Linked DNA regions of Homo sapiens: regions 1, 2, 3, 4, 5 and 7 are each linked to region 6. Evidence: promoter capture Hi-C in 16 types of primary human blood cells and fetal thymus (Javierre and others, 2016). All regions are on one chromosome and are shown on one strand. Each heading gives the region's core, a stretch centred on a gene start or on the middle of the fragment in contact. The rest is flanking DNA. Distances are from core to core; before and after follow the strand shown. Region 1 holds the start of LOC107984553 (a long non-coding RNA gene). Region 2 holds the start of GJA3 (gap junction protein alpha 3). Region 3 overlaps XPO4 (exportin 4). Region 4 has its middle 8.8 kb from the start of XPO4. Region 5 overlaps XPO4 (exportin 4). Region 6 holds the start of CRYL1 (crystallin lambda 1). Region 7 has its middle 13 kb from the start of LINC00367.

Evidence for each region. The method cuts DNA at HindIII sites, captures the fragments that hold promoters and counts their contacts. A CHiCAGO score of 5 or more calls a contact.
Region 1: a contact is called between a fragment that was not itself captured here and the fragment with the promoter of CRYL1 in region 6, in 4 of 17 cell types (M0 macrophages, M1 macrophages, naive CD4 T cells and 1 more). The highest score is 9.0, in M0 macrophages.
Region 2: a contact is called between the fragment with the promoter of GJA3 here and the fragment with the promoter of CRYL1 in region 6, in 7 of 17 cell types (M0 macrophages, M2 macrophages, naive CD8 T cells and 4 more). The highest score is 12.5, in M0 macrophages.
Region 3: a fragment that was not itself captured here is called in contact with the fragment with the promoter of CRYL1 in region 6 in 2 of 17 cell types (naive B cells and M2 macrophages); the score reaches 6.0 in naive B cells.
Region 4: a fragment that was not itself captured here is called in contact with the fragment with the promoter of CRYL1 in region 6 in 3 of 17 cell types (endothelial precursors, naive CD8 T cells and erythroblasts); the score reaches 10.1 in endothelial precursors.
Region 5: a contact is called between a fragment that was not itself captured here and the fragment with the promoter of CRYL1 in region 6, in 5 of 17 cell types (endothelial precursors, megakaryocytes, erythroblasts and 2 more). The highest score is 8.6, in endothelial precursors.
Region 7: a fragment that was not itself captured here is called in contact with the fragment with the promoter of CRYL1 in region 6 in 2 of 17 cell types (endothelial precursors and total CD8 T cells); the score reaches 8.3 in endothelial precursors.

Annotation. Positions count from the first base shown.
Region 1 is chr13:20,183,721-20,186,420 of GRCh38, reverse strand. It overlaps LOC107984553 (a long non-coding RNA gene), which reads left to right and starts at 230. Exons shown (of 3, transcript XR_001749956.2): 1 at 230-969. The HindIII fragment of the contact is 1,032 bases long and covers 903-1,934 here.
Region 2 is chr13:20,159,753-20,162,452 of GRCh38, reverse strand. GJA3 (gap junction protein alpha 3) reads left to right here and starts at 1,401. Exons shown (of 2, transcript NM_021954.4): 1 at 1,401-1,563. RefSeq lists silencers at 751-1,110, 1,341-1,420, 1,581-1,670. The HindIII fragment of the contact is 22,819 bases long and covers 1-2,700 here.
Region 3 is chr13:20,785,218-20,787,917 of GRCh38, reverse strand. XPO4 (exportin 4) reads left to right here. Exons shown (of 23, transcript NM_022459.5): 21 at 320-437; 22 at 861-953. Among named protein-coding and RNA genes, the nearest start is that of EEF1AKMT1, 13 kb to the right of the region's middle. The HindIII fragment of the contact is 731 bases long and covers 927-1,657 here.
Region 4 is chr13:20,910,219-20,912,918 of GRCh38, reverse strand. No RefSeq gene overlaps it. Among named protein-coding and RNA genes, the nearest start is that of XPO4, 8.8 kb to the right of the region's middle. The HindIII fragment of the contact is 3,898 bases long and covers 1-2,700 here.
Region 5 is chr13:20,864,608-20,867,307 of GRCh38, reverse strand. The region is part of intron 2 of XPO4 (exportin 4); the gene reads left to right. Among named protein-coding and RNA genes, the nearest start is that of XPO4, 37 kb to the left of the region's middle. The HindIII fragment of the contact is 5,438 bases long and covers 1-2,700 here.
Region 6 is chr13:20,524,516-20,527,215 of GRCh38, reverse strand. It overlaps CRYL1 (crystallin lambda 1), which reads left to right and starts at 1,359. Exons shown (of 8, transcript NM_015974.3): 1 at 1,359-1,462. The coding sequence starts at 1,422. RefSeq lists an enhancer at 844-953 and a silencer at 1,134-1,683. The HindIII fragment of the contact is 5,179 bases long and covers 412-2,700 here.
Region 7 is chr13:20,935,017-20,937,716 of GRCh38, reverse strand. No RefSeq gene overlaps it. Among named protein-coding and RNA genes, the nearest start is that of LINC00367, 13 kb to the left of the region's middle. The HindIII fragment of the contact is 1,868 bases long and covers 337-2,204 here.

The DNA.
Region 1 (2,700 bases), core at 169-2,668, 340 kb after region 6:
CAGCCTGGGCAATATAGGGAGACATTGTTTCTATAAAAAATAAAAATGTTAGCCAGGCAGGCGTGGTAACATGTGCCTGTAGTCTCAGCTACTCAGGAGGCTGAGGTGGGAAGATTGCTTGAACCTGGGAGGTCCATGCTGCAGTGAGCTGAGATTGTGCCACTGCACTCCAGCCTAGGCGACAGCAAGATCCTGTCCCAAACAACAACAACATCAAAAAACACAGAACTTTTAAAATAAGTACATTCACTTCTACAAGCTATGTAGATTATTACTCTCAAGCTATTAAAAGACCAAGCCAAAATAATTATGGGCTACTCTCGACCACTTGTAGGAATGGATAGAGAGGTCTGGTCACATGCCTGGAAATTAGAGCTTGAGCTCTGAAAATGATAATCCTGACTATATCTCAAAGCATCAGTCTGCACTTTGTATGGAGCAAGAAAAAGCCTTGTGGAAGCGGCCTCCCACCCAGCCGAGCCCTCGGCGTGGACAAGCTCTGCTTTTTATGAGCAGTGGGTGCAGCCTCGCTGCTCCCTCCTCCTGTCAAAAGACAGTCACAGCTGGGGTGAGCAGATCGGGCCCACTTGGGAGGCCCCAAGGAATATGCTGCAGGGGTCGGGCCTGAGCCACCCCCACGGGTTGGTCTTTGACAACTAGAGAGCAGCTGAGAGGTGGGTAAAAGCTCACTCACTTACCCTGACCTCAGTGTCCTCATCTTAAAATGGGTTTCCTGAATCTTTCCCCGGCTTAGTGGCAATGAAATAAGATAATTTATGTAAACGTTCTCCACATAGTAAAGCACTAAGTAACATATGACTGTCATCTGTTTTCCACTAGACAGATCCCAACCTGGAAGAGTGACAGATGGTATTTCAGATACAAGTGACTCAAGCAAAGCTTGATAAACTGGGGGCTGGAAAAAAATGCACATTTACACAAAGCCTGGAGTAACTGCAGCACAGGCAGGTGAGTCTAGCCACATAAGCCGGGAGAGGAATGGCTGGGGGCAAATATAGCAGCAAAAAAGGATAAGGTGGTGACAGCTATGCGACTCTGTAATTAAAGAAAGGTCAACAGAGTAACGAAGAAGGCCATTGACTCATCTGGTCAGGGTCTCTACACTTTCCATACATCTCACCAAATGCTTTTCCCATATCACCTCATTTGCACCTCGCAGCAGTGCTCTGAAGTCCTAGGCTGTTAGTGTTATTCTTGCTGAGGGCAACAGGAAGGCACTGCTCAGAGAGGTAAGAGATCCTGCTCAGAGGCCAACAGCAGCTGGTCCTACCACACAGAGGATGTGGACCGCACTTCTACAATTCTCTAGTGCATTTGATTCCTGAAGCCGGTAACAAGCACAGTAGGAACACCCCAGCTGCCCCAGTGTTCACAGGGTCCAGGGGCAACCCCAACTTGGTGAGACGCTGTTCCATTTCTGCACATGGCTAATGATTCGTTTTCCCAGGCAATATTTACTGACTGCCACCAACTGTTAGGGGCTGGGGGCATAGCTGTGAACAGAACAAAACATCAGGCTTCACATTGAAGGAGGCCGACTCTCAACAGATCCCTGTAGGTGGTACCTGCTGCAGGTAATTTAAATGGAGGAAAATAAGACGTCATGAGGGAAACGGGAAATTGCAATGTAACTAACATAGGGTGGTCAGGAGATCCGGAGGATACAGGGCAGCAAACCACACGAGTCTCTTAGGGAAGCATCCCAGTGAGACGGAAAGGCCAGGATGCCAAAGAGTCAGGGCGAGAAAGGGGGAGATGGGGCCAAGGAGGGCGTGGCTGGGACAGATGGCGCAGGCCACGCAGGCCGCTGTAAGGATTCATGGTTTTAAGACGGAATTCTAGCATCTGCTCTCCAGCATTTGTTCTGCCCTCTGATGGACCCAAAGTCAGTCTATTTTCCACTTGAGAAAGCTTCGAATAGCTGAGAACAACAGGTCCAAGTTCAGACTTTATCCTCCTGCTCCACAGCCCCACATTCCTTCACACATTCAGCATTAAGCAACTACTGCATACCACCTTACTAGATACAGGCTGCCTTCAACTTCCCTAAGAAAACGCATGCTCTGACAGTCAAGCAGCAGTAACTGTGCTGGGAGACTCCTCCTCAAGGCAGGAACAATATTCCAGTCCACAGTGTCCTCCTAGAAGGCAGATGGCCCCCTGTCCTCAGTGCAGCCCCCGACATGGCTGAGCCATGGAACCACTGTTCTGGACATCACGTTATTGCTCAAGTGACTTAGCTTTTTAACAGCCCTGTCACTTTTGCTCATTTCAAAATGAAAAGGCAACCAATGTGATTTTTGTAATTATAGAATATATAAATACATTTTCACTTAAATAATACAGGAGTATACGAAGTCAAAAGTGAAAGTCTCATTTCACTCCCCTGCTTGGAAGTTTCAGTGTTAACATCTGGATTATATCCTTCCAGACTTTTCCCCTGTGCAATTGAATATACTCATACTTATATACATAGACACACAACACATACGTGACCATGTTGGTTTGCATTTCTTACATCATTTTTTCTATGATTGTTTCCCATTTAGTAATATGTCTTAGAAATCCTTCTAGGTCTGGCCAGGTGTGGTGGCTCACGCCTGTAATCCCAGCATTTTGGGAGGCCGAGGTGGATGGATCACTTGAGGTTAGGGGTTTGAGACCAGCCTGGCCAACATG
Region 2 (2,700 bases), core at 152-2,651, 360 kb after region 6:
TATTTTAAGACCTTCAAAGGTAGCATTTTTCAATTAAAAATTAAAAACTAAGTCTCCGTAACTACTACCTACTCCATACATACACCGCAAAGTTCCCAAAGGGAGAAGATATTTTAGATGCGCCTTTAGGAGCTTAGTTTTTCCTCCTTGGGATAACTTTAAATTCAGATCTCAGCAGAACAAACGCATTTTTCAGGGCAAGCCAACTGCTAATCCGAGTAGATCTAAACGCTAACGAAGGCAGCCGACGGAAGCTGCTCCATGAAGACACGAAAACTATCAGACTTGCATTTTGCCACATTCCTGGAATAAACTTATTACTCATAAAGGTGATTTTGAAGCCATTTCAGCTTGTGGAATGATCACCGAAATGCAGTCCACCGATATTTGTTAATATCCCAGGCTGGTCAAACCCCACTCCAGACCTTGGGGGACGGGGAGGGGACCCGCGGCCTCTCTAGGCTGTGCCCAGACAGCAGACAAGGACGCGATGCCGCCCTCGGTCCGCGGCCTTCCGCGGTAGGCGTCCCTCTCAAGCGTGGTAAAACCACCCCGAAGGGAACAGAAAACGTTAAAATCTTCGTTGGGCGCCAGCAGGCAGGTTAGGCCTCGCCCTGGCATCTCGTCTCCAGGACCAGATGGAGCGAGTGACCCGCGGGGACACCTTCCCGGTCACCTCGAGCGCAATAAAACAAGTTCTTTTTTTAAAAATAAGCATCCGTGTGCCTGCCGGCTAAATTAAGTGTGTCTGAAGAGAAGCAGGATGGCGGCCGCTATTTATAACCTCCCGCCCCGCCCGGGCGCCACTCCTCGACAGCACCCACGCTGTGCCCGGCGGCGCTTCCGCGGGGACTTCCTGCTCGGTGGTCCCCGCCCCGCCCCGCGCCAGCCGTCCGGAACCCGCGTCCCCAGGCGGCTGCAGGCGGGCGAGACCTAGGTGCCCGACGCCCACGCGCCTCCGACCGTGGGAGCGCCCGGAGAGCAGCTACCTCGCCGGGCCTGCGAAGCCCAGGACAGGCGCGAGCGGGGCGCGGGCTGGCGCATCTGCGTGCGGTGGGCGCCCCGCAAGCGGGTCGGGCCCGCCCCAACAGCCCTCGGCTCTCCTCTCACGTCCCGCGCGGGCATGCCCCGGAGTGCGTAGGCGGCAGGGAAGAGCCCCCGCGTCCACATCCCCAGGGCCCGCGCAGGTGCGGGATGGGGATGCAGGCGCTAGGCATGGACGTGCGCGCGGGGTAGGGTGTGGAATGCGGACGCGGGCGAGTGCTGTGGCTGCGCGTACAGGGTAGGGATGCGGGGGCGGTAGGTGTGCGTGCTGGGAAGCGCGCGGGGCGGGGCTGTTCGGAGGCGGCGGGGGCGTGGCGCGGCGTCCTGAGCTGCAGCTTGGGGGCGTCGGGCGCAGCGCACACTGGGGCTGCAGGGATGGCGATCAGGGCGGGGAGGTCGGGCCCTGGCGCGGGGCGCACGCGTGAAGCAGCACCGCACGTGTGAAAGGAATTCTTTTCAGAGCGGCCGGGAGCCCTGCTCCGGAGGAACGCACCCGGGTCGCCGCCGCGGCAGAGCGGGGTAAGGCGGGCCGGGCGCCCCGGAGGCCAGGCACAGGGGCCGAGGGCAGCGCGGGGCGGGGACGGGCGGGTCGGCGGCGCAGCGGAGCTGCCGGGCGAGCCCAGCGGGCTGAGACTGCCGAGCTGGGAAGCCGAGCCCCGGCACGTGTGCGGCTCCCAGCCCCCTAGGATTCTTTCAGGATTCTTCAAAAAGTTGTGGGGAGCTCGGGAAATTTGTGAGAAACTTTTGGAATAATTGATCTTCCTCCTTTGCTCCTGGAGGTCTGGAGAGCAGCGCCTCGTTTGGCTTCCCTTGATGGACAGTCCAAGGCCGAGTTTAAGTTGTTTTCCTGGGGTTGTTTTCCCCCTCGGGTGGAGGAAGCCGGGCTGTCCCGGACCGTCAGGCTGTAGGGCTCCTAGCGATGCTGAAATGCTTGAAAACTCTAAGCAGATGTCACCGCGCCAGCTAACGGCGCGCACCCAGCCGTCCACGGGCATTCAGCATCGCCGTGCTCCTAAAAGTCCTGTTGGGATTGTTTAGAAACAAGGTTGGCTCGCCTACATTTTTTTCAGAAACTTTTTAAAACTTTTTATTTTTAAGAAACACTGTAGCTATTAATGCCACGACCAGATTTCTCGACCTGTATGTTTGTTATGATGTGTTCAACTATAAGGAATTTGCAGAGGAGTGGAAAAGCACTGTCCGAGCCCCTTCCCGTAGGAGACTTGAGAAAACAAACGGCAGTGACGCGGCTGCATTTGCTTTGTTGCCGACTCCACACTAGTGAGCAAAATTCATCCTACCATGTAGAGTTCTCGGTTCGTGAATATGTGACTGCAACTTTAGAACTCCAGTTTTTATTTTATCAAGATGTCTCCAAAACATGCCATTTAAAAATGATTCTATACAAACAGCTGACAAGCGAATTATGGGTCTCATCACCCAGGAATTAAAAACCATGGTGATTTATGATGTGCGCATCACTTCACTGGCGGTCCATCCATGTGCAAGACAAACATTAAAAGATTAAAGAGGAAAAAAGAGGGATTTATTTTCCGAATATCAGTGTGTTCAAAGTAAACATCAGCTAGTTTGGCACAGATTCCACCTGCTCAGCAGTTTGGTTCATATCGAGATAAGCATCTCATAAGGGCAATG
Region 3 (2,700 bases), core at 43-2,542, 260 kb before region 6:
CATTAGTAATGTTGAGCTGGGTCTCTGGTCTTAGCTCTGATTGTAGAGAATAATATGACTTTTTAATAAGTTGTATGTATCGTAAACTGAAACAAGCTATACATCACCAGGCTCAAACCCAAAAACCTTATAGGCAATCTGAAAAACACTGGAAATCTTCTTTCCTTATATAACTCAGTGAAGATATTGCCCATGAGTCTACTTGTGTATCTGTATTCATTTCTAGAAACACTCATCCATTTAATACTAGCTATAATTTTTTTATCTTTTATAAATCGAATATATCCAATCTAGTTTGTTCTTTGACCTTCATGATCAGAATGAGTTCGGAGGTTTGCCAGCTTTGCCTGGAGGCCTTGACACCGTTAGCTGAACAGTGTGCAAAAGCACAAGAAACAGACTCACCACTTTTTCTAGCAACACGGCACTTTCTTAAGGTAAGATGTCTGTGCGGTAGGTCAGAAAATCAGCTACTTTCAAAAGTGTGGTCGGTGCACATAATTCTGCATTCAAATGAGGAAATGCTTCCATTCTTTCGGGGGCAAGGAAACCATGACTTCCTGTTCACTGTTTTTTTCTGGAGATCAGCTCTTCATGGACACATTCTCATCCTCTATTTTTTGTGTTCTTGGAAATTGATGTGGTACACATTGAGGGAATTTGATATTGTTGATTATTCAGATACCACAGCAAGTAGCAATATCTGTAAGGTATTTTTTTTAAAACATTAAGGAAAATTTCAGATTGATTTAATAAATAGAATAACAACCAACCCTCTCTTCTTCTTTTTTGGACTGGGGAGGGACTGGAGGATATATGATCATCCTATGTTTTTATTTAGAAGTCTTATGTAATTTCAGCTGGTTTTTGATATGCTGGTTTTGCAAAAGCACAACACAGAGATGACCACTGCGGCTGGCGAAGCTTTCTACACGTTGGTGTGTTTGCACCAGGTACTGGACATGCCTCTTTTCAGGGGACTCTTCTCATTCTATTTTGCAAAGAGATTGTTGAGATAGATGGTGGGTCATTAATCCCCCCTTATAGGATCTGTGACTCAGTGCTTCAGTTCTGTTTCAGTGAGGAAGTATTTCTTAGCTTCTTTATTAGCTTTCACATGTCAGTTTGTGTTTATCTGACAGCTGTTTGTCAGTTCAAAGCATTTATTTTTTGTCCTCCACCATTATGAACCATCCTTTGCAATGGTCACTGCCCCAAAGCCTGTCCTTAAACAACTGTGCTAGGAATGAGGAATACATAATGGGTGTGTGAAGAACTCATGGTTTTTTGTAAGGGAGACAGGATGGCAGACAAGGAAGAGTCTGCCTTCAGACAGTATGGAAGACAGTATTTTATTGCATATTATAGAAAACAGTATATTATTTCATTTTGTTGATCTTTTAAAGATTCTGAAGCATCACTGATAATGGGGTTAATAGAAGAGTTAGGCTAGCTTACCTGTCTCCCCACTTCTGATCGAATAGGTGCCTGTGAAATTTATGAAAAGGACCGTATTGAACAGTTTGCTGCCTCTGTTTCCCCTTTTCCTCTCCCATGCATATATATACACACATATATATGTAAGGTACATATATATATATATATATATACACACACACGTATATATATATATACCTCCCAGCATGGCCAAGAAGCTTTGGCGTTTTATTTCCATCTTTAAAAAAGGGTTTAGAGGAGGTCTTCCATACTATTTAAAGACCTCCTTTCTCTAGACTTCCCGTAACATCTGTGCCCTAAGCTGAAGGTGCCCTGGGGCTTCATTTCTTGCTCTCTGCCCTAGGCTGCCACTTCCTGCAGGTGGTACCTGCTCTCAAATCTGTGCCCTTTCTCTGTCATTTGTCTTACTTGTTGCTTACTAGCAAGGTAGTCGTCTTGTCTGATCCTTCCTTCCTTCCTTCCTTCCTTCCTTCCTTCCTTCCTCTCTTTTTCTTTTCTTTTTTCTATCTTTTTCTTTCATTTTTCTTTTCTTTCCTTTCTTCCTTCCTTCCTCCCTCCTCTTTCTTTCTTTCTCCCTCCCTCCCTCCCTCCTTTCCTCCCCCGTTCCCTTCCACCCTCTTGTCTCTTCCTCCCTTCCTTTCTTCCTTCCTTCCTTCTCTTCCTTTATTTCTCTCTCTCCCTCTCTTTTAACATATTTACACACTGCAGGAAAGAGCAGGTTTCAGGAATGGCCAGTATGATACTTGCTGCCTGGCCCCAGAGGCTCTACTATCTCGCTTTTTTTTTTTTTCTGAGACAGGGTCTCACTTTATTATTACCCAGGCTGGAGTGCAGTGGTGCAATTACTGCTAACTCCTGCCTCGGCCTCCTGGCCTCAAGCAATCCTCCCGCCTCAGCTCCCCAAGTAGCTGGGACTACAGGTGTGCACCACCACACCTGGCTTATTTTTTGTAGAGACGGAGTTTCACCATGTTGCCCAGGCTTGTATCGAACTCCTGAACTTAAGCAATCCACTCGCCTCGGCCTCCCAAAGTGCCTAGGATTACAGGTGTGAGCCACCATGCCTTGCCACCTCTACCATTTCTCATGAGTAGGGAAATGATAGGAGATTATACTTGGTCCCCTGTGAACAGGACTGTCCCTTTGATAAGGCAATTAGGGGAGCCACTCTGGCTCCATGGTTGGGGATTGGGATGCTGCACCTTATCCTTCTTTTCCAAATGTAATTAACATTTGGTTTCA
Region 4 (2,700 bases), core at 152-2,651, 390 kb before region 6:
TGCAATCTTGGCTCTCTGCAACCTCTGCCTCCCAGGTTCAAGCGATTCTCCTGCCTCAGCCTCCTGAGTAGCTGGGACTACAGGTGCCTGCCACCACGCTCAGCTAATTTTTGTATTTTTAGTACAGACGGGGTTTCACCATTTTGGCCAGGCTGGTCTTGAACACCTGACCTCAAGTGATCTGCCCGCATCGGCCTCCCAAAGTGCTAGGATTATAGGCATGAGCCACTGCACTCAGCCTCTCCTTTCTTTCTTTCTTTTTTTTTTGAGACAGAGTCTCATTCTGTCTCCCAGGCTCCAGTACAGTGGCATGATCTTGGCTCACTGCAAGCTCTGCCTCCTGGGTTCACGCCATTCTCCTGCCTCAGCCTCCCGAGTAGCTGGGACTACAGGTGCCCAACACTGCACCTGGCTAATTTTTTTGTATTTTTAGTAGAGTCGGGGTTTCACCATGTTAGCCAGGATGGTCTCGATCTCCTGACCTCGTGAGCCAGCTGCCTTGGCCTCCCAAAGTGCTGGGATTACAGGCGTGAGCCACCAGGCCCAGCCTTCTTTTTTTTTTTTTTTTTTTTTTTTTTTGACACAAGGTCTTGCTGTGTCACTCAGGCTTGAGTACAGTAGCATGATCTCAGATCACTGCAACCTCTGCCTCCTGGGCTCAAGCGATTCTCCTGCCTCAGCCTCTTCAGTAGCTGGAACTACAGGCACACATCAGCATGCCTGGCTAAATTTTGTATTTTTTGTAGAGATGGGATTTCACCATGTTGCTCAGGCTGATCTCTAACTCCTGGGCTCAAGCAATCTTCTCACCTTGGCCTCCCAAACTGCTGGGATTACAGCTGTGCGCCACCATGCCTAGCGGGGTTCTCTCTTTTATTTTTATTTATTTATTTTTTTGAGATGGTGTCTCACTCTGTCACCCAGGCTGGAGTGCAATGTCGCAGTCTCGGCTCACTGTAACCTCTGCCTCCCGAGTCCAAGCGATTCTCCCACCTCAGCCTCCCGAGTAGCTGGGACTACAGGCACCTGCCACCACACCCAGCTAATTTTGTATTTTCGGTAGAAATGGGATTTGGCCACTATGTTGGTCAGGCTGGTCTCAAACTCCTGCCTCAGCCTACCAAAGTGCTCGGATTACGGACATGAGCCACCACGCCCACCCAGCCTATCTCTTTTTTATTCTTAATCTAGTTAAGTTTGTCAATTTTGTTGATCCTTTCAAAGAACAAATTCTTGGTTTTATTGATTCTCTCTATTGGTTCCCATTCTCGATTTCATTTATCTCTGCTTAATGTTTATTTTTTTCCTTCTGCTAGCTTTAGGTTTAGTTTGTTCTTCTTCTTCTAGTTCCTTAAGGTATAATGTTAGGTTGTTGACTTGACAACTTTCTTCTTTTTAAATGTGTTTGTTGTTGCTGTGGACCCTATCCCTGTTGGACTGAACAAAGGATGACGAACTTGGGAATAAAGATAAAGGCAAAAGAGTATATTTGGAAGAAGGGGTTGGGAGGAGGCGGTCCTTGCTTCTAGTGAACAAGGGCCCTGAGCTTTAGAGCCCTTCGCATTTTATTGAGTAAAGGACACAGGGAGGAGGCAGTGGTTGGTCAGCAGCTTGATTTACAGCTGGCTTGCAAGACTGCATTCTTCAAACAATAAGCTCTAGATGTCCCAGTAGATAACCTCAATGAGCACAGCACCAGGGAGTGATTGCCCTCAGCAAACCTTCTGGCGGTAGGCACAGTCGCTGAGTCTGCCCACATCCTGCATTCATGATAAACAGTTGGCTGTTTGATCATATAGCCTCCAGTGGAATGCTGAGTTGGTCACGATCCCTTTGGTCTTTTCGGCTCCCAACATTTATAAATAAATTTCCTCTTAGTATTGCTTTTGCTGCATCCCATAACTTTTGGTATGTTGTGTTTTTATTTTGATTTATCTCAGGATATTTTCTAATTTCCCTTGTGATTTCTTCTTTGACTCTTTGGTTGTTTAAAAGTGTGTCATTTGGGAGTCTCTCAGAGTCTATTCTTGTTTGGGGGCTGCCCAAGTTTTTTCTTTTTTTTTTTTTTTGAGATGGAGTCTTGCCCTGTTGCCCAGGCTAGAGTGCAGTGGTGCGATCTCAGCTCACTGCAACCTCTGCCTCCCGGGTTCAAGCGATTCTCCTGCCTCAGCCTCTGGAGTAGCTGGGACTACAGGCCCGCGCCAACGTGCCCAGCTAACTTTTTTTGTATTTTTAGTAGAGATGAGTTTTCACCATGTTGGCCAGGCTGGTCTCAAACTCCTGACCTCAAGTGATCTGCCCATCTCGGCCTCCCAAAGTGCTGGGATTACAGGTGTGAGCCACCATGCCCGGCCAGGGACTGCCCAATAAAAAAAAAATAAAAAATAAAAAAAAAGCAAAAAAAAGGGGAAAAAATAGAAAAAAAAGTTACAGTGTGTTGTTTAATTTCCACATATGTACTAATTTTCCATTTTCCTTATGCCATTAATTTCTAGTTTTATTTCACCATGATTAGAAAAGAAATTGTGTGATTTCAAATCCCATTTCCACCGGGTGCGGTGGCTCGCGCCTGTAATCCCAGCACTTTGGGAGGCAGAGGCAGGCAGATCACGAGGTCAGAGATCAAGACCATCCTGGCTAACATGGTGAAACCCCATCTCTACTAAAAATACAAAAAATTAACTGGACATGGTGGCGGGT
Region 5 (2,700 bases), core at 32-2,531, 340 kb before region 6:
GAAGGTGGCTCTGTCTCATTTAGGAGTTAGGTCTTAGCAGAGGAACAGGTTCAACAACTACCTTTTAAATTCTCACTGAAGCCATTTTAATTAATTTACTTATTTCAGTGGTCAGCTTTTATAGTTGTGTGGATTCGTTTCTGGCACTAAGAAGATTTAACATATACCTGTGGAGGATATTTAACTCAATGTTAAAGGAAGCAAAACTAAACGGCATAAAGAGTTTAAGGAAGCATTAATTCATCCTTACTGCCTTGAAATTGTTCAGCATTAATAGATTTAGAAAACCGTTGTGTTAAACTATTAACCTAAAATAATTTGAGTCTGGTTTTCATGGCATATGCCTTAACGACATTGACTAGGATTCCATCAGTGTTTCATCTGACTTTCTATTGGAATTCAGTGTCATTGTACACTAGTTGGGAAATAGTTGATCTAACTTACAAGTATTTTATTAGAGTGTATTTGTTTATACCATTCTTTCCTTTTTAGAATATGTATATTTTATGAAGTATTGTTGCTTTGTTATGATTGAGCTTGTTTTGGAATACTTTTGTTTTCCTGATAAAATTTTCTAAAGAGTAGTATTGCTAGTTCTGGCCATGCTTTTAAAATGAGTTTGGGTTTTGAGACACTGACTATTTAAAAGGTGGAGTGCATGTATTACAAGCATAATCATTAATGTACTGCAAAGCCCTGTGTTACATTAATGTTTACATCTAAACTTCACAGAAAATCTTTTCACTCCTTATTCAGTTGCCACCAGCACAGAAGGGTAAATTCCTCTAAGAAGACTTCTCATACAAGTGGCAGTCAATCGCAGTTCAGAATTTTCACATTCTTGTTTAGGGATTATGTGTCATTTTTATAGAAGGTCTGGGTAATATATTCTACTAAAGGGGAGACTTTCTTTGATGCTTCCCTTTTCTGGCCTCTTAAAATTCTTCCTTCTCACTTCTAACTTGAGTTTTATATGTTGCTCATTTTTCCTCATTTCTTTCTCTTCTTATCCTTTTGTTTTCATTCTAGTTTTTATTTTCTTTGCTCTTTTCTGTGTGTGTGTGTGGTGTATCTGTGCATGCATGTGGCATGCTTGTGCATTTTGTCAGAAGAGCACTTTTAGACTTCTTCACTTCAGAAGTCTTTGGCACTTAGTAATTTAAATTTTTTAGGATCAAATGTTCCTTTAAAAAAACAAGTGAGTTCTGTTCTTGTTAAAGAAATAATCAAGAACTGTGAGGGATTGGCTTACTTCTTCTGGAGCTAACTTTGTGGCATTCTTTTACTCTTTCTCAGGGAGAAATGGATTTCTTTCACTTCTGATCTCACAAGTGCCAAAACAAAACAAAATAATAAACCACCAAAAAGTCAGTTAAACTAGTAAACTTTTACACCTCTGGAAAATTGTTTCCTTAGTAGTGCTGTCAGTCACTGGGAATTAATAAATCATCTTCCATCTGAGACTTTTTGTCATTAGTTGGTGGGCATAGGTATCACTGAGTCAAAGAGTAGACTTGGAGCTTATATTGCCTGTGCTTTGGACAGAAATACTTAAGGCCAGAGAGTTGATTGTAGTAGCTGTATATCTGTGGCTTCACTACCGGGGTTTTTTCTTTTTTAAAAAAACTTTTTGGTCAGAATGTAGTGCTTTTCCTGTATTATTAACTTTAACTTTTGTCTTCATGTTTCTGTTTAGTTTCAGATGGCTGACAAAATTCAAATGAATTTTATTTACATAATTATTATTAAAGAAAGTTACTGTGGTAGCAGATGAAAGCATTTTGCTAAAGTGACCTAAAATAATTTATTCTCTGGACAGTGTCCTAGTCAGTGGCAGATCTTCCCAGAAGTAGTTTAGAAATTCTAGATGAGGCTGGGTGTGGTGGCTCACACCTGTAATCCCAGCACTTTGGGAGGCTGAGGTGGGTGGATCACTTGAGGTTGGGAGTTTGAGACCAACCTGACCAACATGGAAAAACCCTGTCTCTACTAAAAATACAAAATTAGCCGGTGTGGTGGCACATGCCTGTATTCCCAGCTACTCGGGAGGCTGAGGCAGGAGAATCACTTGAACCCGGGAGGCAGAGGTTGTGGTGAGCCGAGATTGCGCCATTGCATTCTAGTCTCAGTAACAAGAGCAAAACTCCATCTCAAAAAAAAAAAAAAAATGCTAGATGAATTGTGAGTTCTTCATGAAAACCCTGTAGTTTCAGGCATCTTTGTAACAGAGAGCGAAAGTAAAGCTCATATGTATTTGTGAAGTTCTAATTTCATACTGGTAGGCTTCGAGAGTACCTTCTAGCATCTCTTGCATATTTCTACTATGTATAAGTTAAATTTATGACAGCTAATAATGGTTTTTATGAGAAAGGGTAATTTATTAGTTTAGGAAAATTTCTTCTTTTAAATTAGGAATTTGGCTTTTTTTTTTTTTATTCCTCCATTCTTAGAGTCAGCTTCTTATGGGAGTAGTCATTTAGAGATCATCATTTAATACCATGCAGAGGTCTAAGAAAAAGAATTAAGAAACTTTTGTGTCTTGAAAATTTTGAATATTCATCTTCTATAACTGCCCCCTCACATCCAACACCCACCCACCTCCAAAGGGCAGAAAAAGGCTTGGATGTAAAAACAAATAGTTAGGAATGTTTCAGTGATCATTAACAATGAAAGTGCTTATTCGCTCTATCTTCAGTGGCA
Region 6 (2,700 bases), core at 110-2,609:
GCTGAGACTACAGGCGGCACCAGCCTGGATAAGTTTTTTAATTTTTTGGTAGAGACAGGGGTCTCGCTTTGTTGCCCAGGCTGGTCTTGAACTCCTGGCCTCAAGCTATTATTTACTACTCAGCTTCCCAAAGCGCTGGGATTTCAGGCATGACTTTGCAGGGAGCAGCAAACAAGCCAGTCTGCTGCCCCCATAGCCTCCGGTAGTGAGCAGTCACAGGATGCTCACTCCCTGGGTGCCTTGATTATTATATTGGCTGCCTGTGTAACTGACTACAGAAACTGCTCCATCAGAAGATGGAAGCTTTGGAGCCTTGTATTCTCAGCCAGAGCAGGCGCGGTTGCTCAGGCTAGCGGCTGTCTCAACAATGTACTGTAACATTCCCTCCAAAAAGTCCTCAACATTTAAGCTTGCCTTCTACTGTGTGTAAGTTGCATGTCCGAAACACTCCATTACGGATATGGGAATATAATCAATCCATGTGACTTAGCCAATCTGATGAGTGAGAGATGACTTATCTTCCTTGTGTTACTTTTCATTTCTCTTGAGGTTGAATACTTTACAAATATTTATCGATAATTTGTGAAACTGTTCTTTAAAAAACAAAACAAAACAAAAAAACCTAACCCCTCCCCTGAGATTTCTCTTTCCACGTTCCTGACTCAGGGGAAACAAAGGAAGACTTCCTTTTATCATCTCAGTGTTGGCTGCGGTTCCAGCTTGAGTACTGTCTCCTCTGTCTAATGACTGTGTCATTTCCCGTTCAGCTTGTGCTGTGTGGACGCACACCACTGTCAGGCAATGTGTGATGCCCCTTCCTCTTGGTCTGTTCCGGGCTCCAAGAAGGCCAGGAGTCAGGGCACGAGGGCATTTCCTTTTTCTGATACATAAACCGAGTGCAGAGTGTGCTCCGTGGAGGAATTCAGACGTGTCCTTCCGTAGCGCAGATGAACGCATCAGGTGTTCTCTTTCACTGCTGTCGCAGTCCCTGCGCCCAGTTCGCAGTTGGCGGCAGCGGCAGGCGTCTTTCAGAGACGAATTAGCAAAGGGGACATTCTCTGACAGTTTCTCTAGGGTGCTTTAGCGCTAGAGCCCGTGCCAGCCTGCCCGTGTCCCCTCCTATAGACACGGACTTCACGGTGAATGCTGACAGTCACAAGCGCGTGGTCTTCCCGCTTTCCACCCCCCGACGTGCCCCCGCGCTGGTCCTGCCCCTGCCCACGAGGGTCGGCGCGCCGTGTGTCTCCCGGTGTCTCGGGCCCGCGGCGCGCACCCCACTCAGGGACCAAGCGGCCCTCCCCGCCCTCCCGGTCCGCGCGCGCAGCCAATGGGCGCGGGACCCGCCCTCCCCGGAGCCCAGAGCTCGCAGCTCCGCCGGCGCCTGGTCCCAGCGCCCGCGGCGCCGCGTCCCCGGCCCAACCATGGCGTCCTCCGCGGCCGGCTGCGTGGTGATCGTTGGCAGGTAAAGGGCTCCGAGCCGCGCTGCTGCCCCTGGAGCCCGGGGAGACGCCGGGGACGTGGTGCCCTCGCGTGGGGCCCTCGGGGTGGGCGCCGGGTCGCTGTCCCCGCCCCGGCCTCCGGTCCTCCGAAGCCCTGCGCCCTGCGGCCCCTACGGCGCTGGCGGGCTCGGGGAGAGGCGCGGCTGGAGGGGCTTGGCAGGTGGAGGCGCCCCGCGGAGTTGGGTCTGCTTCCCGGGAGCCAGCGTTGCAGGAGGTTCCGAGGTTGACCGCCCAGGCCGCGGGGCCTGCGGTTCCTGGACTCTGTTGAATGTCGCCGCGTCTGCCCGCAGGTCCACATAGAAGTGCCAGGCACCGTGTTGAATGAAACGAATTCTGGCTGCGATCCTGCGACGACTGTGTTCTCATCCCCATTTTACGAATGAGAATACTGAGACTAAGCAGTTTACCTAAGGTCACAGGCGTTTAGTGACGGAGACAGGACTAGCCCAGCAGGGAGGGTGCCAGCGCAGTCCTGTCGGCGACGATGTCGCTGGAGGCCGCAGCAGGTGTTAGGCGAACATACACGCAGTCCTAATTCCTGGGCGAGGCGATGTTTCCAGAGGGGAGGTGGGGGCCGATGGAGCCCAGAGAGTTTGCTAAGTGTGTCCATTTAACAGCTTAAATTCTGCCCAAACTGATTTTTAGTGTGTGCTTCCCCCACCCCGCCCCCCACCCCTACGGTTACAATCCTTGCTATTTTTGTTTTTTAAAAAGGGGCATTTGTATGTACCTTTCTTTGGCCAGCTGTTAGCAGCAATCTATAAACATGTTAATACTTGCTATTGATAGTTAAAAGCACCTTTTTGGTGACTGCTGTTGAGGTGTTGGCCTGCCCCCGACTCCGCCCCCCATCAGTGTACAACCCGGTGTGGAGACCACTTCCAATGTCAGGGTGTTTCCTTCCCACTGAAGGAAGGCATCAGATTCCTTGTTGTCAGCTTTCTTTTCTCCAGAGCAGTGGAGTTAACTGTGCCTTTGTTCTTTCTGGCCCATGAGTGCCCGTGGTTGAATAGTGAAGGCATATTAAAAAGTGCACTTTGGGCCGCGCGCGGTGGCTCACCCCTGTAATCCCAGCACGTTGGGAGGCCGAGGCAGGCGGATCATCTGAGGTCGGGAGTTCGAGACCAGCCTGACCAATATGGAGAAACTCCGTCTCTACTAAAAATACAAAATTAGCCGGGCGTAGTGGCACATGCCTGTA
Region 7 (2,700 bases), core at 21-2,520, 410 kb before region 6:
GTCGAGATCACGCCACTGCACTCCAGCCTGGGCAACAGATCGAGACTCCGTCTCAAAAAAAAAAAAAAAAAGAAAATTTAGGACACTTTGAAAACACAGTGAACAGACACCTATAGTAATCATTTTCCCTGTCACTAAAACTCATAAAACAATGGCTTTGAATGGCTATATGATATTCCATTATGATGATATAGCCCAAATTAATTAACCATTTACTTGTTATTGGAAATTTAGGTTATTTCCTATTTTAAATAATTTAAAATGTAAATATACCTTGTAAATAACATCATATTGCATATCTTTATACATGATCTTTTTCTTTTCCTTGTATAAGCTTTATCATGAGTACATAATCTTTTTCTGCATCTTTAATTATATTCTTAAGAACATTTTTAATGCTCTTGTTATATATTTCCAAATTGATTTCCAGTGTATACTCCCAGGAGAGGGTTAATTTCATGGTTCCTCTTGTGAATGTTATCTTTATTTTATTCTTTAAATATTTCTTTTCTGTATTTTGAATAAATGTACAACAGAATGTTATGTGGATTTTCTTTTTTCCCATGTTCCAGAATTGCAGCTGAAACCAAAAGCCCTGGACAAAAAATGTGAAGTGTCTGGGAACCTTAGAGACCCCTCTGGGCTTTCCGAGAAAGGCAAGATCCGCAATCAGCTCTCCAGCCTTCTCACCTCCCCAGCCAACAGAAACTCTTCTGTCTCCTGGTTGGACTTGGGCTCAGCCTCAGCTGTTGATTAGGACAACTGTGTCCCCCAAGCAGGGGAAGAAACCTTGGAAGAGATGAAGAACAGGGAGTGAGTAAGAGCGTGTCAGTTGAGTGACCGTGAAGACAGTGGGAATGGAGGCAGCTTACCCATGTCGGGCAGATCCACTCCTCCCAGAACCCTCCCAAAAGCCCCTCCACATGCACCTATGGAAGTTCCAGTATTTGAGGGGTCGCCTCACATAGCCCATGTCAGTTAGCATTAGCCACAGAGGCAGGGACACTCACAAGAACCTTGCTGCCAGCTTTGCACAGGGAACTTACCATGAGGTGATGAAGTTTAAGCTCAGTGCCCTTCACCTGGATAATCTATGTTAATACTCAAAGGTGTCCAACATTTTTTTGAGACTAAGTCTTGCTCTGTCACCCAGGCTGGAGTGCAATGGTTGTGCGATCTCAGCTAACTGCAACCTCTGCCTCCCGGGCTCAAGCAATTCTCCTGCCTCAGCCTCCCAAGTAGCTGGGATTACAGGCACCCACCACCACGCCTGGGTAATTTTTTTTTTGTATTTTTAGTAGAAATAGGGTTTCACCATGTTGGCCAGGCTGGTTTCGAACTCCTAACCTCAAATGATCCTTCCGCCTCAGCCTCCCAAAATGCTGGGATTACAGGTGTGAGCCACCATGCCCGGCCTTTTTTTTTTTTTTTTTTTTTTTTTTTGAGACAAGGTATCACTCTGCTGCCCATGCTGTAGTGCAGTGATGCGATCATAGGTCAATGTGGCCTCCACCTCCTAGCCTCAAGTGATTCTCCTGCCTCGGCCTCCCAAAGTGCTGAAATTACAGGCATGAGCCACTGTACCTGGCTATTTTTTTCACTCTCTCTATTTTTTTTTAGACAAGAGTCTTGCTCTGTTGCCCAGGCTGGAGTGCAGTGGCACGATCTCGGCTCACCGCAAGCTCCTCATCCCAGGTTCACACCATTCTTCTGCCTCAGCCTCCTGAGTAGCTGGGACTACAGGTGCCCTCCACCACGCCCGGCTAATTTTTTGTATTTTTAGTAGAGACGGGGTTTCACCATGTTAGCCAGGATGGTCTCGATCTCCTGACCTCGTGATCCACCTGCCTCGGCCTCCCAAAGTGCTGGGATTACAGGTGTGAGCCACCACGCCCGGCCCTTTTTCACTCTCTTGCCTAGGCTGGAGTGTGGTGGCACAGTCATAGCTCACTGTAACCTCAAACTCCCAGGCTCAAGTGATCCTCTTGCCTCAGCCTCCCCAGTAGCTGGGGACTACAGGTGCATGCCATAAAGTCCAGCTAATTTTTTTTAGGTTTTGTAGAGACAGGCTCTTGCTACATTGCCTGGGCTGGCCTCCAACTCCTGGCCTCAAGTGATCCGCTTGCCTTCACCTCCCAAAGTGCTGAGATTATAGGCGTGAGCCACCACTCCTGAGCCCAACATTTTATACATATTTATAAGCTTCAAGTCTGGATCTTGGATGTGCAGTTGGCAGGCAGTCACATAAGACCTCTGTCTCCCATGCTCTTATTATCATTATTCAGGGCATACATGTGCATGTTTGTTACATGGATATAACGTGGAATGGTGAGGTTTGAGTTTCTAGTGCACCCATCACTAAAATAATGAATCTTCTATGCAATAGGTCATTTTTCAACATGAAATCCCTCCCATCCTCTCCCCCTTTGGAGTCCCCCAGTGCCTATTATTTCCCTTTCCATGGTTTTTTTTTTTCTTTCTCCAATACCAGAAATGTCAGGAAAGACGGAAAAGTGAAGCTGACACCTCCATCCCCTACTGCAGATGATAAGGCACTAGTGCAAATTGCATTGAAGGTTAAAGAATCTGCAACAAAATGTCTTCAGTGGACTGGCTACGCAATGGGAAAGGGTAGTTTGGGTTTTGTTTGTTTGTTTATTTCCCCTCTGCACAGTCCACTGGAAAGGGGTACTTTGATTG